Linked DNA regions of Homo sapiens: all the other regions are linked to region 1. The links are contacts of gene promoters, found by promoter capture Hi-C in blood cells and fetal thymus (Javierre and others, 2016). All regions are on one chromosome and are shown on one strand. Each heading gives the region's core, a stretch centred on a gene start or on the middle of the fragment in contact. The rest is flanking DNA. Distances are from core to core; before and after follow the strand shown.

Region 1 (4,443 bases), core at 1,452-3,951:
ACTCTTGCAACTCAATTACAAAAAAGAACCTAATTTAAAAATGGGCAGAGGATCTGAGTACACATTTCTCCAAAGAAGATAAATAAATGGGCAATAAGCACTTGAAAAGATGCTCAACATCATTAGCCATCAGGGAAATACGATTTGAAACCATAATATTTTCAAAAAGTTAGGAGATTTTTAATGGTCGCAACACAAAGAAAAGATGAACGTTTCAGGTGGTGGACATACTAATTACCTGATTTGATCACTACACATTGTATACATTTATCAAAATATCACTCTGTAGTCCCTAAATATGTACAATTATTACATGTCAACGAAAAAGAATGAAAACACAATGACACACACTTCACACCCACTGGAATGGCTAGAATCAGAAAGACAGATAATGACAAGTGTTGGCAAGGAGTGAGAAATCAAAACCCTAATACACTACTGGTGCGAATGTTAAAAAGATGCACACTGATGCTTTGGAAAACAGTCTGACCATTTCTTAAAATGTTAAACAGAGCTACCATATGACCCAGCCATTTCACTCCTAGGCACATACGCAAGAGAAATGAAAACATGATGTCCACACAAAAACTTGTAGGTGAATGTTCACAGCAGCATTACACATAATGGCCAAAAGGTGGAAACAATCCAAACGTCCACTAACTAATGGAAAATAAATCGTGGTAATACCCATAAAAGATTAACCAGCAATAAAAAAAAGTACTGACACATGCTATTAAATACAACACAGATGAACATGAATGTTAAGTAAAAGAAGCCAGTTGAAAAAGACCACATGCTGTATGATTTCACTCACATGAATAATCCAGAATAGTCAAATATACAGTCAGTCAATTCATAGTTGCTTAGGGCTTAGAATGGGGAGTGGGGATGGGGAAGTCAGGTGAGCCTGCTGAATAAGTACAGGGTTTCCTTTTGGAGTGATGAAAATGTTCAATTGTTCCAATATGGCTCTCACAAACTGAATGCAGCATATTAAACATGAACAAAAGAATACAAGAATAACTTATTGGAGTCTGTCTGAAATAGAAAATTAAACCAACTAATGAAGGTGAAGAAGATTACAGCATATTTTATGATGATGGTTGTACAACTTTGTGAATGTACTAATGTACTAATTACTTTTAGGTTTTCTTTCTTTTTTTTTTTTTTTGAGATGGAGTCTAGCTCTCTCGCCCAGGCTGGAGTGCAGTGGCGCAATCTCGGCTCACTGCAAGCTCCACCTCCCGGGTTCACACCATCCTCCTGCCTCAGCCTCCCAAGTAGCTGGGACTACAGGCTCCCGCCACCACGCCCGGCTAATTTTTTGTATTTTTAGTGGAGACGGGGTTTCACCGTGTTAGCCAGGACGGTCTTGATCTCCTGACCTCGTGATCCACCCGCCTCGGCCTCCCAAAGTGCTGGGATTACAGGCGTGAGGCACCGCTACGTTTTAAATGGTGAACTCTACGGTAGGTGAACTATGTGTCAGGAAGCTGTTTTATTTTTTTAAAGGACTGAAGACTTTTGTTTTGTGTTTTGTTTTGTTTTCATTTTATCCCGTTTTTAAAACAGTGCCTAGCAATATTATGAATTCAATCGATTTTGGCTAAATGCTAGAACAAAAATTAAAACTTGAGTAAACCATATAAAACTTTGCCATATCTAAAGTTATTAAATTACCGTAGACTGGCATGGTGGGAGCATAATATGAGTGTACCTGCAGGTGTGTTTTCCATGAAAGTAGCAAAGACTGAAAAACTCAGCAGAATCAAGACCCTGTAGGCCCTTGAAGTTAGGCTAAGAAATGTGTATTATCCTGAAAGCAACGGGAAGGCCAGGAAGATTCTGAGGACAGAAATAACACAATCTGATATGCGTTTTAAACGTGCAGGTGTAAGCGGAGAGTTGCTACTTCTATCCAAACGTGAGCCACCTCAGAAATAAAGCAATAGCCCTCCGGGGAGAATGGGGAGGAATCAGGGGAAGACCGGAGAAACAGGTTATCAAATTATCAGAATCTCCATAGATTTTTTTAAATTACACAGCATCCACCCCCAAACACACATACAGACTGATAGGCACTGATATATACATAAATACATCCAATGTCCCCTACACAGAAAATCACTTTTGCAGTCAGCCCCTGTTGGGAGGGTTTTTCTGTTATTCAAGTGTGGTGGGGACAAAAAGTATTATAACCACTAAACCAGGTAATTCTTTCCTACAATAATTTGGGCAGCGTACTCCTCAGGGTGTTGAAATTTAGCACTACCAACAAAAGTGCCCAGTCCCAACTCTTCGAGAGGACCCTAACTCTTTACAGTGTGCTGTTGGGGATGGTCAGCAAAAACTGCAGGACAAGGTCAAGGTTAGCTCGACACAGCCTCCTAACTCCGAGCGGACGGAGCCACTGAAGGTTACCAGGTGCCAAAGAAGCTGCGCAGGGAGGCCGCGACCCGGCGCCGGCGCGAACCTCCGCGATGTGACCCGTGAGGGAACTCTCCAAGAAGCAGCGCACCCCGCGCGCAAAGGCGGCCCCCCGAATTGCAGGAACAAACGCTTCTTGCTGGGGGGAAGACGGAGACTCTTATACCGCGGGAGACTAACCTGTGAGCAACAGAAGCACCACGCTACAAAGAGCATGACGAGTTCTTCCAGGCTTGGGAAAGCACGGGTAAATGCCCGCGGTCCTGCGCGCCAGCGGGGAGCAGTAGAGACTTCCGGCGTCGGCTGCTCGCAGGGCTAGAGCGTCGAACCGGGACAACCGGAGGCTTCAGCTCACCTCGGATTGTAAATGCTAACACGGGTCCTCCGGCCGGCTGATCCAGAACTTAGGTCGCCGGGACGTGTGGCTTCTGCTTCTCAGACGCTCGGACTCGCGCCGGGAAGGGTTTCGCCTCCCCTGGTCCCCGCTTTTTTTTTTTTTTTCTGCGTCCGGTTATTGCAAATGCATTCAGTCCAGTAGCACTAGCCCAGGAAATATAAGCCACCGGCTCACGTTGCTCCTCACAGGTATGCGGCGCTTCCGCTGGCCTCCAAGGACACGAAGCCCCGGGCCGTCTGGCCCCCCACTCTAGCACTGAAATTCCTGCCGCCCCGTTCAGCTGACAAATTTGGCAGCACTAAATTTTATTTTATTCGACAAATTAAGTACCCAGTTAACACCAGGGAGTAACGGGGTAAGAAAATTTCAGAAGGCTGGTGGATAATAATAGCATTTACCTCATAAATTTGTTATGAGGATGTGAAGCACTTAGAGTAGTGTCTGGCAGTTTGTAGGCGCTCAGTAACTGTTAGCTGTTATTATTTTTATATTGATTATTCCATAGTCACCACTATTATCACCTTAATGTCAAGCTTGAAATCCAGTATCTTTCCTCTGCGAAGCCATCACTCCAAGACTAATTAACTTTAGACTGGGGCATTCTTCTTTAAACTCTTGCTCACACATCCCTATCAGAAAAAATATATATATATTTACATGTGTCATGTATGGCATTAATATATTATGCATGCTATAAAACTCACAAGACATCAAACTTTTGATGAGGTAAAAACAATTTTTAAACTTTTTTAAAAACTTCTAACAGAAGTTCTTTTCTTCCTCCACAACAATTAGGTTGCCAAACATACATTCTATCACTCTGGAATCCACTAGCTAAATGAGCACATTATCAAAGCAACCTACCGCTGAATTCTGACTTCCCAGAATGTTTCTTTTCCAAAGAATTAATAGAAACTAATCAGATTGTGAAGTGCTCGGCCATAAGGACTATTTAAATGGTTCTTAGAGAAAAAGAAGAAATAAAATAGGCATCCACTGAGTAATATTCATTGATGCAACATTGATTATTGACTTATTACATTTTCAAAGAGATTGAGGTTATAATACCTTACACCAAGCTTAATATTTCAAAGAATAAATCAACTAATAAAAAGCTTATGAGGTTTGGTATATGTGCATTTCATACAACGTTCATGAAAATGAACCCGAGATCAATTAGCTCCCGTTCTGTACCAGAAAGAGAAATATGTTTACTTTGTAAGTAATAAAACATTAAATAGGCTTTTCTGACCATTTGCTTGAAAACTCAGAACTTAACATTTCTATCACTGGACTTAAATCTGCTAAAGTTTTCGTCTAAATTTTACATTAAAAACAAAACTCTATAGTGAATAATGTTACCTATCCAATATTCATTTTCCTCTAACTCCTTTGTACCAAAATCCTTATTTTATTCAGATAGCTGCCCTGTTCCCAGAATCAAAATGATACTGATTAAACCAGTCATCACACAGAATTTTTTTGTCGTCTAAATTTTACATTAAAAACAAAACTCTATAGTGAATAATGTTACCTATCCAATATTCATTTTCCTCTAACTCCTTTGTACCAAAATCCTTATTTTATTCAGATAGCTGCCCTGTTCCCAGAATCAAAAT
Region 2 (4,443 bases), core at 1,036-3,535, 430 kb before region 1:
AAGGCTTTGTCTTTGCCTCGTTGTGATTTCTTTCTTCTATCAATGTTGAGAGCTTGACGGAGGTGCTGGTGGGTTAATTCTCCTCCTTATCCTTTCAATTCCCCCATTCTATCCTAAATCACTACAGATAGGCCTATTCTATACATATATTGCCAGTTCTTCCTTATTTCCTTCCTCTTCCAATAGGAATCTCTTGAGGTAAACCACCTCTGCCAGTCCTCCTATCACAGCCTGCTGCTGAGATGGTGCAGCCTGGTGTGGCTAAGGCGTGTGGCAGCCAGAATTGGAACTGAGTGACAGTTAGAGCTAGAAAGAGCACAAGAGTGGGCAGAGTGATGACAGGGAAGGAACCTGGGAAGGAACGTGCTACCTGTGGCCCCATCTGGAATATGAACTGGCTTTGTCTCCTTTCAAGGGTGGAAGAGGGATAGAAGAGGGTGGAAGAAGGGTGGAAGGAGCGAGAGATTCCTTTATATTGCCAATATAGGTATGAAATGTAGGAGAGAGAGATGACTTTATATTGCTAACGGCCATGCCTGCTTCACTCTTCATCATGGCTCTAAGTTGCTCTCATAAATGCTCTGAGACATCAACACTGAATTTATATCAGATATGGCCGTGTTCATCCGGGGCACTTTGATCACAAAAGGAAAGTGCTGCTGCTGCTGGTTCAACCCCACTGTGTACTGATGATGGGCATTATGGTTCATAATCCCAATGACTGGCACACTTATCAGAGCTGCAGTCCAACATGGGGCCTTCTTCTGGCTTGATGGGTGATCTGGAAAAGCAGGTACGATGACCTCCCACACTGATGTGAGAGCTGCACACTGTCCCTGCACCCGCCCAGGAGCCGCCCCTGCTACTTTGTCAGTAACTTCTGCCACGGTGCCACTTGTTTAGACTTGAGGGACCACTTGATTGGTAAAGCTTCTCCCTGCATGTAGACCTTGGCATTCAGGAGAGCTATACTTGGGCTCCCCAAGACACAGCAGCTCTGTCCACCTTGCTCTCCCCCTCATTGCTGCAGTGTGAAGTTTCTAAGGTGAACAAAACCTCCGTGGCCCCCCACTCTCCAATGGAGAAGGTCTTATTTCTTGGTGTGCCATGGGAGACCCCTTTCACACACTTCCAGCTGCCCCCAACACTGTCTGGCAGACAGCTAAGAGGAGCTCTGCTGAATCTGGAAGCTCAGCATGCTTCTAGTAAAGATACGCTTTTCCACGAGAAGTTCCTTCTGCTTAGATTGGATTTCCCTCAGCTCTTGCCCCTTCCTTCCAGGTCCAGCTTCCATGTCCTCCCATCTGGGAAGGTGGTCCCAGCATCTCTCTCCCTTCTAGGGGGGACCATGCCCACCACCCCATTATTGCCCTCACCATTGTGTCATAGTTGACTGCTTAAATGTCTGCCTCCTGCACCAAACTCTCCGAGGCTATGAGCACTGTTTAAGTCCTCTCTGTATCCATACTCAGCATTTAGCACAAGGCCTGGTACACACTAAAGACTCCATCCACATTTCCTGATTGACTGGGCTAAAGGAAGGAAGAAGAAGCCAGATGCAGTGGCTCACGCCTGTAATTCCAGCTCTTTGGGAGGTCAAGGTGGATCACTTGAGGTCAGGAGTTCAAGACCAGCCTGGCCAACATGGTGAAACCCCTTCTCTACTAAAAATACAAAACAATTAGCCAGGTACGGTGGCACGCACCTGTAATCCCAGCTACTCGGGAGGCTGAAGCAGGAGAATCTCTTGAACCCGGGAGGCAGAGGTTACAGTGAGCTGGGATCGCACCATTTCCTTCCAGCCTAGGCAACAAGAGTGGAAACTCTGTCAAAAAAAAAAAAAAAAGAAGCAGGAGAATAAAACCAAAGACAGGATTTACTTAAAAATAAACCCAAAGATGCTGGGTCAAACCACCCAGGGGATATAAGAATTTAAAAGAGAGCATCTTTACAGCACCTTGATCCTCCATGACAAATGATAACATGCTTTTGAGTATTAATTTCAATGAGGATACAAACTCAGCACTGCATCTGAAACCCTCCTAAGTGTATTTCTTAGAACTGTAATCCCTGTCTGGCCCCATCACCTAATAGCAGGCAAATGAGGACACGACCATGAATGGAGGAGGGAAACACACTGGCTTACAACAGCCTGAGGCTCCTCAGGCTTCTCAACAAGCCTGAGGCTCCCTCCCAAGCCAGGCAGCTCAGGCCATGGATGAGGCAGCTAACTGGCCGCAGGGAGTCTCAAGGTCCACTTGGGGCCCTGCTGCTCCCCTGCTGCGTGGTCAGGGCAGGCAGCTGCCCTTCTCAGGCTTCAGCTTCCCGGTGAATAAGAGGAGGGGCTGGCCCAGAACCCTCCCATGACTGTCACTGTGGGTTCCTGTGTGATTCACAGTATTGTGGGTTGGCTTTTGGAGACTGGACTGTAGCCAAGCAGGTGGTGGTGCCCTGGTTACGGGAAGAGGCACAGTGACCCCACTCAGCACAGCACAAGCCCTGCTGGGCTCAGGATGGAGTGAGGCTGAGGTCATCATGGGGGCTCCTCACAAATGCCCGGTACGGGGCCGCCCCGGGAGGATGATGTGGCTGGCTCACAGCAGCTCCACCTCCCTTTCTCTCCTGTATGGTCCGCAGGGCTCCTGGAGCTGGGCGCCTTGGGCCCCTGGAGCCGCACTGTGGTTCTGGGAGGTGAACACATATCCTTTTCCTCTGCAGGTATCAGTAGGTAAAGAGGAAACTTTTCCACTTTCAATCAGGCTAGTGCCTTCCTGAGGAAGAAACAGTATTTCCTAACATTGAGAAGGGAAAAATGGGTCTCTTTCTCACATCTGTAAGTTCCCATTCATTCTGTCTCTGTGTCTTACACACACACCACACACACCCACACACGTGCACACACACATGCGCGCACACACACACACAGGAATACCAGTTCTCACCTTTCCTTTCTGTGTAAACCAGAGGAGGTGCTAAATATTATGAACAGGAATTTGCCCCAGCTAACCTGACGAGGCCCTCCTGGCTGCCACCTTCCTCCCTCTCCCACACCCACAGCCCCCTGCCCATTCCTCTGCCCATACAAACCACCCAGATTTCAGCAACTTCGCTGCTGAACGCCTCCAAACATAAACCTCCCAAATAACCCAGAGCTGCACCAAGCAGTCCTAGACTTGAGCAAAGCAGTGAATGGTCCAATCATGCCCCTCCTGGAGCCTGGCCTCCAGCTGGTTTCTCTTACGTGTGAGTGAGAATGGTGTGCGAGCGACAAGGAGCAAAGACCACCCCACCCCCCGCCCCCCAACACCTGCCATCAAAGGGCTGCAGAGTCAAAAGTGGGAGGGGATGTTCAACCTTACACTTATTGGTGGATTTTTTTTTATGAGCGATAAGGCATTATGTGTTCCTAAAATAATGTGTCTGACTGGCATTTTAACAAGTTCCTTGTATTTTAAATCATGACTTCCTGTGTGGATATTATCTGGCTTGGCTTGATTTGCTTATTAAAATTTTCTCCCCCTAATGTTCCCTTTCAGCCAGCAATGAGTGGGATTTTATTTCTTTTTCAAAGAAAAGAAGCCCACACAATTTAGTTTATGTAATTCTGTGATATTCTTCCACACAATGGCCAGCACAAAAGAAAGCTTTTTTAGCACATGGCTTTGAGGCTGAAAGCACAAATTGAGGCACAGGTTTCAGGAACAGGTGTCTGGGAGCTGAAGAGTTAGACAGAGATGGTGGTTTAGCAGCCACCTCCCACTCTCCTCCCTTACACCTGAGAGCCCCTACACCCGCCCCTGTCCCACAACATCCCTCATACACAGCAGTTCCCAAGCAGAGGTACAAATGGGTAAGCAGGACTCAAATCTCAGGATGTGAGAGGGAGAGGAGGACCCAGGGGCAGTATTTAATCTCATCCCAACACTTTCTTCTTATTTGACAGGTGATGAAGGCAATTCCCAGAGAGGTGGAGCCCTTCTTTTTAGCCTAACGAATTGTTTCCCTTAACAGTCGTGACTCAGAGGAAATGCGTGGGCTGCAGTGATTTTTGTGATCTCTTGTGCCTGCCATTGGGTTGGGTAGGAGGTTTCTGCTTTTAGACTGTTAGGACCAGCAGGGCCCAGCAGCAAGTAGAGCTCTGGATAAAGCTGCCCTGGCCTGTCTCCAAACCCTCCAACCCAGGCCATCCCCACTTCTCCTGTACTGCCTCAGGGATTCCCGGTGCTTCTGCTGGTCCTGCATCCGGACACCTGACCCATCCCAGTGCAGTCCAGGAACCAGGAACTCAATTCGAGCAATTCTGGGCACCAAGCCTAGTGCTTACAAGAATTCCTGAGCTCAAGGAGCAGAGCCCCATGTCCAGGTGCACCCCAGCCCACACGTTACCCACAAGTGCATTCATTCATTCAACACAGTTATTTATTTATTTATTTATTTATTTAT
Region 3 (4,443 bases), core at 1,391-3,890, 310 kb before region 1:
CAAGGTAAAAAAATAAACAAATAAAGTATGTCAGCTTTGGAAAGGAGGACACAAAACTGTCTGTATTTTCAGATAACATTGTTGTGTCAGTAAACAGTACAAAACATTACCCAAACTACCCAAATTAGTGAATTTAGCAAAGTAACTGAATAAATAAAAGGTAGATACGTAAAATAAATCATATTTCTATATGCAAATAGAAAATAAAAATTGTTAAAAGATATTATTTACAGTAGCATCAAAAACCAAGGAATAAATCTAACTGCAGAGGAGGAATATGGTTACACCGTGCACTACCACTTTGCTGAGAGAAATTTAAAACAGCCTAGATGAAAGGAGATATTGTTCAAGGCTTAGAAAAGTCAATATTCTTTAGGTGTCAATTCTTCCCCAAATTGATCTGTGGTTTCAGCGATATCCTAATCAAAATCCTGGGAGATATGTTAATGTAACTTGACAAGCTAATTCTAACATTTGTATTGAAATACAAAATGCCAAGTAGAGGTAAGAGAGTCTTGAAAAAGAAAAGAAAAAAAAAGCAGGACTTTTATACTGCCGGATGTCCAGATAAAATATGAAGCTCTAAGAATTAAATAGTGTGGCATTGGCACAGAACAGACAAATAGCTAATTAAATAGATGAGAATCCAGAAATAGATGCACCACATAGCATCATCGTTTTACGACAATAGTGCTGCTGCTGTATGTTATGGAAAGGATAGCCTGTTCAATATTTGATGTTGGGTCAATTTGCTGTCCATACAGAAAAGAAAGAAACCTTGAATGCAGTCTCACAACATACACAGTCTATTCCAAATCAATTGTACATTTAGATATGAAATTATAACAATAAAGCTTCTAATTCATAAGAAAACAAGTAAGAATACTTTCATGTCCTTGTGGAAGCCAAAAAAATCTTAAATAGAAAATAGAAAGCATTAATCATAAAATAAAAGAATAATTAATTGAATGGCAATAAAATTAAGAACCACCGTTCATCAAAACTTTACATTAAGAGCAAGCCACAGAGTGGGTAAAGATGTTGAGCTATGTCTAGGTGACAGCTAATATCTAGACTATAAATACTACCTCCTAAAATCAAAAAGAAAAGGACAGAAACCAACAGAAAAATGGAACAAAGACTTCAACAGCCACCACACAAAGCGGGGATGTCCAAATGCCACTAAACCTATGAGAAGGTGTTTAACTTATTTTGACATCCAGGAATGAAAATTAAAAGTATGGTGTGATACCACTGCACACTCACCAGTGTGCAATGGTATGGCCAAACTGAAGAAGATCAACAATGATGGCTGCTGGTGAGGTGTGGAACATAGACTCTCCAACTCTGCTGATAGGAGGCAGGGAGCAAGGACATCAGTTAGGAGACATTACAGAAGCCAGGTGGGAAACGAGGAAGCCTGGACCAGCCTGAGGCATGAACACAGAGAAGTGTGGAGGTAAATATACTTAGCCATGATCCCTTGCTTTTGTCTTCTGGTCTCTTTAATATCCCTTTGCTTATCTCCCTACAGTATGTTTAAACTAGGGCTCTGGTGTGTGAGAAGAACATCAAACAAACAGTACAGCGAGCTCAGGGTGTTTTCTAATGCTGGTGCTGGTTGTGAGATGTTGTTAAATATCAGATTGGAGGAAACGTAATTGCGGTTTTGCCATTAAAAGTAATGGCCAAAATTGCAATTACCTTTGCACCAACCTAACCAAAACATTACCAAACAATTTAAACATAACCAAACCATTACCCTACAATTACCCAAACCACTGCCAGACAACTTAAAGAGTCAAATATGGGCATAAACACCAGGGGTCAGGGTTGGGCCTGAACTTTTAGAGTATACTTCTCTTTTTTTAATTGTTTTTTGGTTGTTGTTGTTTTTTTTTTTTTTTGAGGAGTCTCGCTCTGTCACCCAGGCTGGAGTGCAGTGGTACGATCTCAGCTCACTGCAACCTCCGTCTCTTGGGTTCCAGCAGTTCTCCTACCTCAGCCTCCCGAGTAGCTGAGATTACAGACACACATCACTACGCCTGGTTAATTTTTTTGTATTTTTAGTAGAGATGGGGTTTCACTATGTTCATTAGCCAGGCTGGTCTTGAACGCCTGATGTCAGATGATCTACCTGCCTCAGCCTCCCAAAGTGCTGGGATTACAAGCATGAGCCACAGCACCCGGCCTTTAGAGGATACTTCTTGATGCCGAGTGCTTTACCAGAATTATATATACTGGTAGATTGTTTACCAGAGTTACCACATTTAATCATTTCAACAACACCATGAGTAAATGAGAATGAGACTTATTAGAAAGGGAAATTGCCAAAACCTTTTTGATGGAGCAGAACAATCAGCCAGGTTAAGCTAAAAGCCCTGTCACCTGGAGATAAATCGCAGTGCCTGGCCGAGAGTCGTCACCTGGAGATAAATCGCAGTGCCTGGCCGAGAGTCGTGGTCTCCAGGATTTAAGCACAATTGCTAAGTGATTACTGTCATCAGACAGCCCCAAGGCGTTGTAAACAATCTCTGATTGGTTTAAGATAGATCATTCACTTCAGTCCTGACTGATTAGAAATTACAAGATAATTTAATCAGACATTAAAGTGTGCTTTTGACCTGGACAAAGTAAACATAGTGTCATTAGCACAAAAAAATCACATTTATGGAAGAAAATCATTCTCTGAAACGCAGAGCTGGTACTGGTGGTGAGTGTGTGAGCAGCCCTAAAGACGGCATTATTTCCCCAGGACAGCAGTTTCACAAATGATTTTTTAAGTTCCCTGACATAGACAACCATCATCTAAGTACAAAAACCAGTTCTTTTGTTAGTAAAATCAGCTGCTGAACCATTTTATGAAAGGAACTCATGAATGAATCACCAACATGAAAACATAGGGGACACTCTTCTGTTTACGTGGGGTGGGAGACTGGAGGTACTGCCTCTTGTTCTACAGTGATGCCTGAGGCTCATTCACAGAACCTGAGACTCAGAGACACACTGTTTGATATTCACTTGCCAAAGTGTTCCTTGTACTTGTCTGTTAGCATCATTTTTCAACTTCTGAGGACATAAGATGGAGTTTTTGAGTGCAGCAGTGAAACTCCTTGAAAACCATTGCCAATGTCTTATGGAGGAATAGAGTGAGCTGGGCAAGGGGTTAGCTTGGCACATCCATCCATGGTGGTGGGTGGTGAGCTGGAGCCAGCTCATGTGAGCTGACAGCTCATGTGCAACTCTTCCCAACTCCACATTTAGTGAAATCAGCCATCGAGGGAGTATTTACACCAAGAAAATTGGCAAACACTACAGACTGGAGCTGGAACTGGTGCCTCGTTCATTGATTGAAAAAGTTGAAGACTAACACTAAAAGTGACATCCTGTAAGACTGATACCAAAAATCAAAGGTGGGGCTAGAGTCTGAGGAGAGCAGATCTAAGCAGATTTCTAAGCACGAAGGCTTCAGAAAAACAGAAACCAGGTACAGACAGAGCCAAAGGAGTATCTAGAAATGAGGAAATACAAGAATCAGGAATGATGGAGCAGGCAGGTGGGAGAGAACAAAAGAAATTTCAGAGATGGTAGCAGTTGTCTTTGGCATATCTACATAAAACGGCCACAGCAGAAATTCCACTTCAGCCAGGCTCATCTCTGACTGTGATTCCATCCTTTTGGGGGCCCTCTTAGCAGGTCCCCATCTTTGTCTCCATCAGGCTTGTCTTGCTGGAAGAAAATTACTATGCTCCAGTGACAAATCTCAAGTCCTGACAGGCTTTGCTCCGTGTAGCTTTCTCAGCATTTTTCAGGGCAATGGGTTATTAGCCTGGAAAAAAAGTTACTAAAAAAATACGAACAGGCCAGGTGCAGTGGCTCACGCCTCTAATCCCAACACTTTGGGAAGCCAAGGTGGTAGGATCGCTTGAGCCCAGGAGTTCAAGACCAGCCTAGGCAACATAGCAGAACCCCATCTCCACACACACAAAATTTAAAATTAGCTGAGCCTGGTGTTGTGTGCCTGTAGTTCCAGGTACTCGGGAAGCTGAGGTGGGAAAATGGCTTGAGCCCGGGGGGTCAAGGCTGCAGTGAGCCATGATCACACCACTGCACTCCAGCCAGGGTGGCAGAGCAAGACCTTGTCTCAAAAATAAATAAAAAAATAAATAAATAAATAAAATAAAACAGCAGTCTTTTCAAAGTTAAAAATATCAGGAAATATCAATAGAGTTCTTGTGATATTGTAAATTACTTTAAATTGCAATTTTGTCACAACGGAATTACTGTGGTTATGCTATTGATTTCATGTATTATGTAATTATCACTATACTGATACCATGATTAATTAGCTAATCCCACATTTTCTGGGATTTTTTTAAAATTTTAAGCCCAGAATGGGAGCAGAGAAGGTATTATGTATCTTGTAAAAGCTTATGACAAACA

The links. Contacts are between HindIII fragments. The CHiCAGO score rates a contact against its expected background, and 5 or more counts as called.
Region 2: a fragment that was not itself captured here is called in contact with the fragment with the promoter of COA1 in region 1 in 1 of 17 cell types (activated CD4 T cells); the score reaches 6.7 in activated CD4 T cells.
Region 3: a contact is called between a fragment that was not itself captured here and the fragment with the promoter of COA1 in region 1, in 2 of 17 cell types (megakaryocytes and total B cells). The highest score is 6.9, in megakaryocytes.

What each region holds. Positions count from the first base shown.
Region 1 is chr7:43,726,822-43,731,264 of GRCh38, forward strand. It overlaps COA1 (cytochrome c oxidase assembly factor 1), which reads right to left and starts at 2,702. Exons shown (of 6, transcript NM_018224.4): 1 at 2,608-2,702. RefSeq lists enhancers at 1,988-2,717, 2,718-3,446, 2,813-3,012. The HindIII fragment of the contact is 9,306 bases long and covers 1-3,355 here.
Region 2 is chr7:43,300,045-43,304,487 of GRCh38, forward strand. All of the region lies in intron 3 of HECW1 (HECT, C2 and WW domain containing E3 ubiquitin protein ligase 1), which reads left to right. It overlaps LOC102724903 (a long non-coding RNA gene), which reads right to left and starts at 267. Exons shown (of 3, transcript XR_428133.5): 1 at 1-267. RefSeq lists an enhancer at 4,182-4,443. The HindIII fragment of the contact is 2,714 bases long and covers 929-3,642 here.
Region 3 is chr7:43,420,477-43,424,919 of GRCh38, forward strand. All of the region lies in intron 8 of HECW1 (HECT, C2 and WW domain containing E3 ubiquitin protein ligase 1), which reads left to right. Among named protein-coding and RNA genes, the nearest start is that of LUARIS, 100 kb to the right of the region's middle. The HindIII fragment of the contact is 3,576 bases long and covers 853-4,428 here.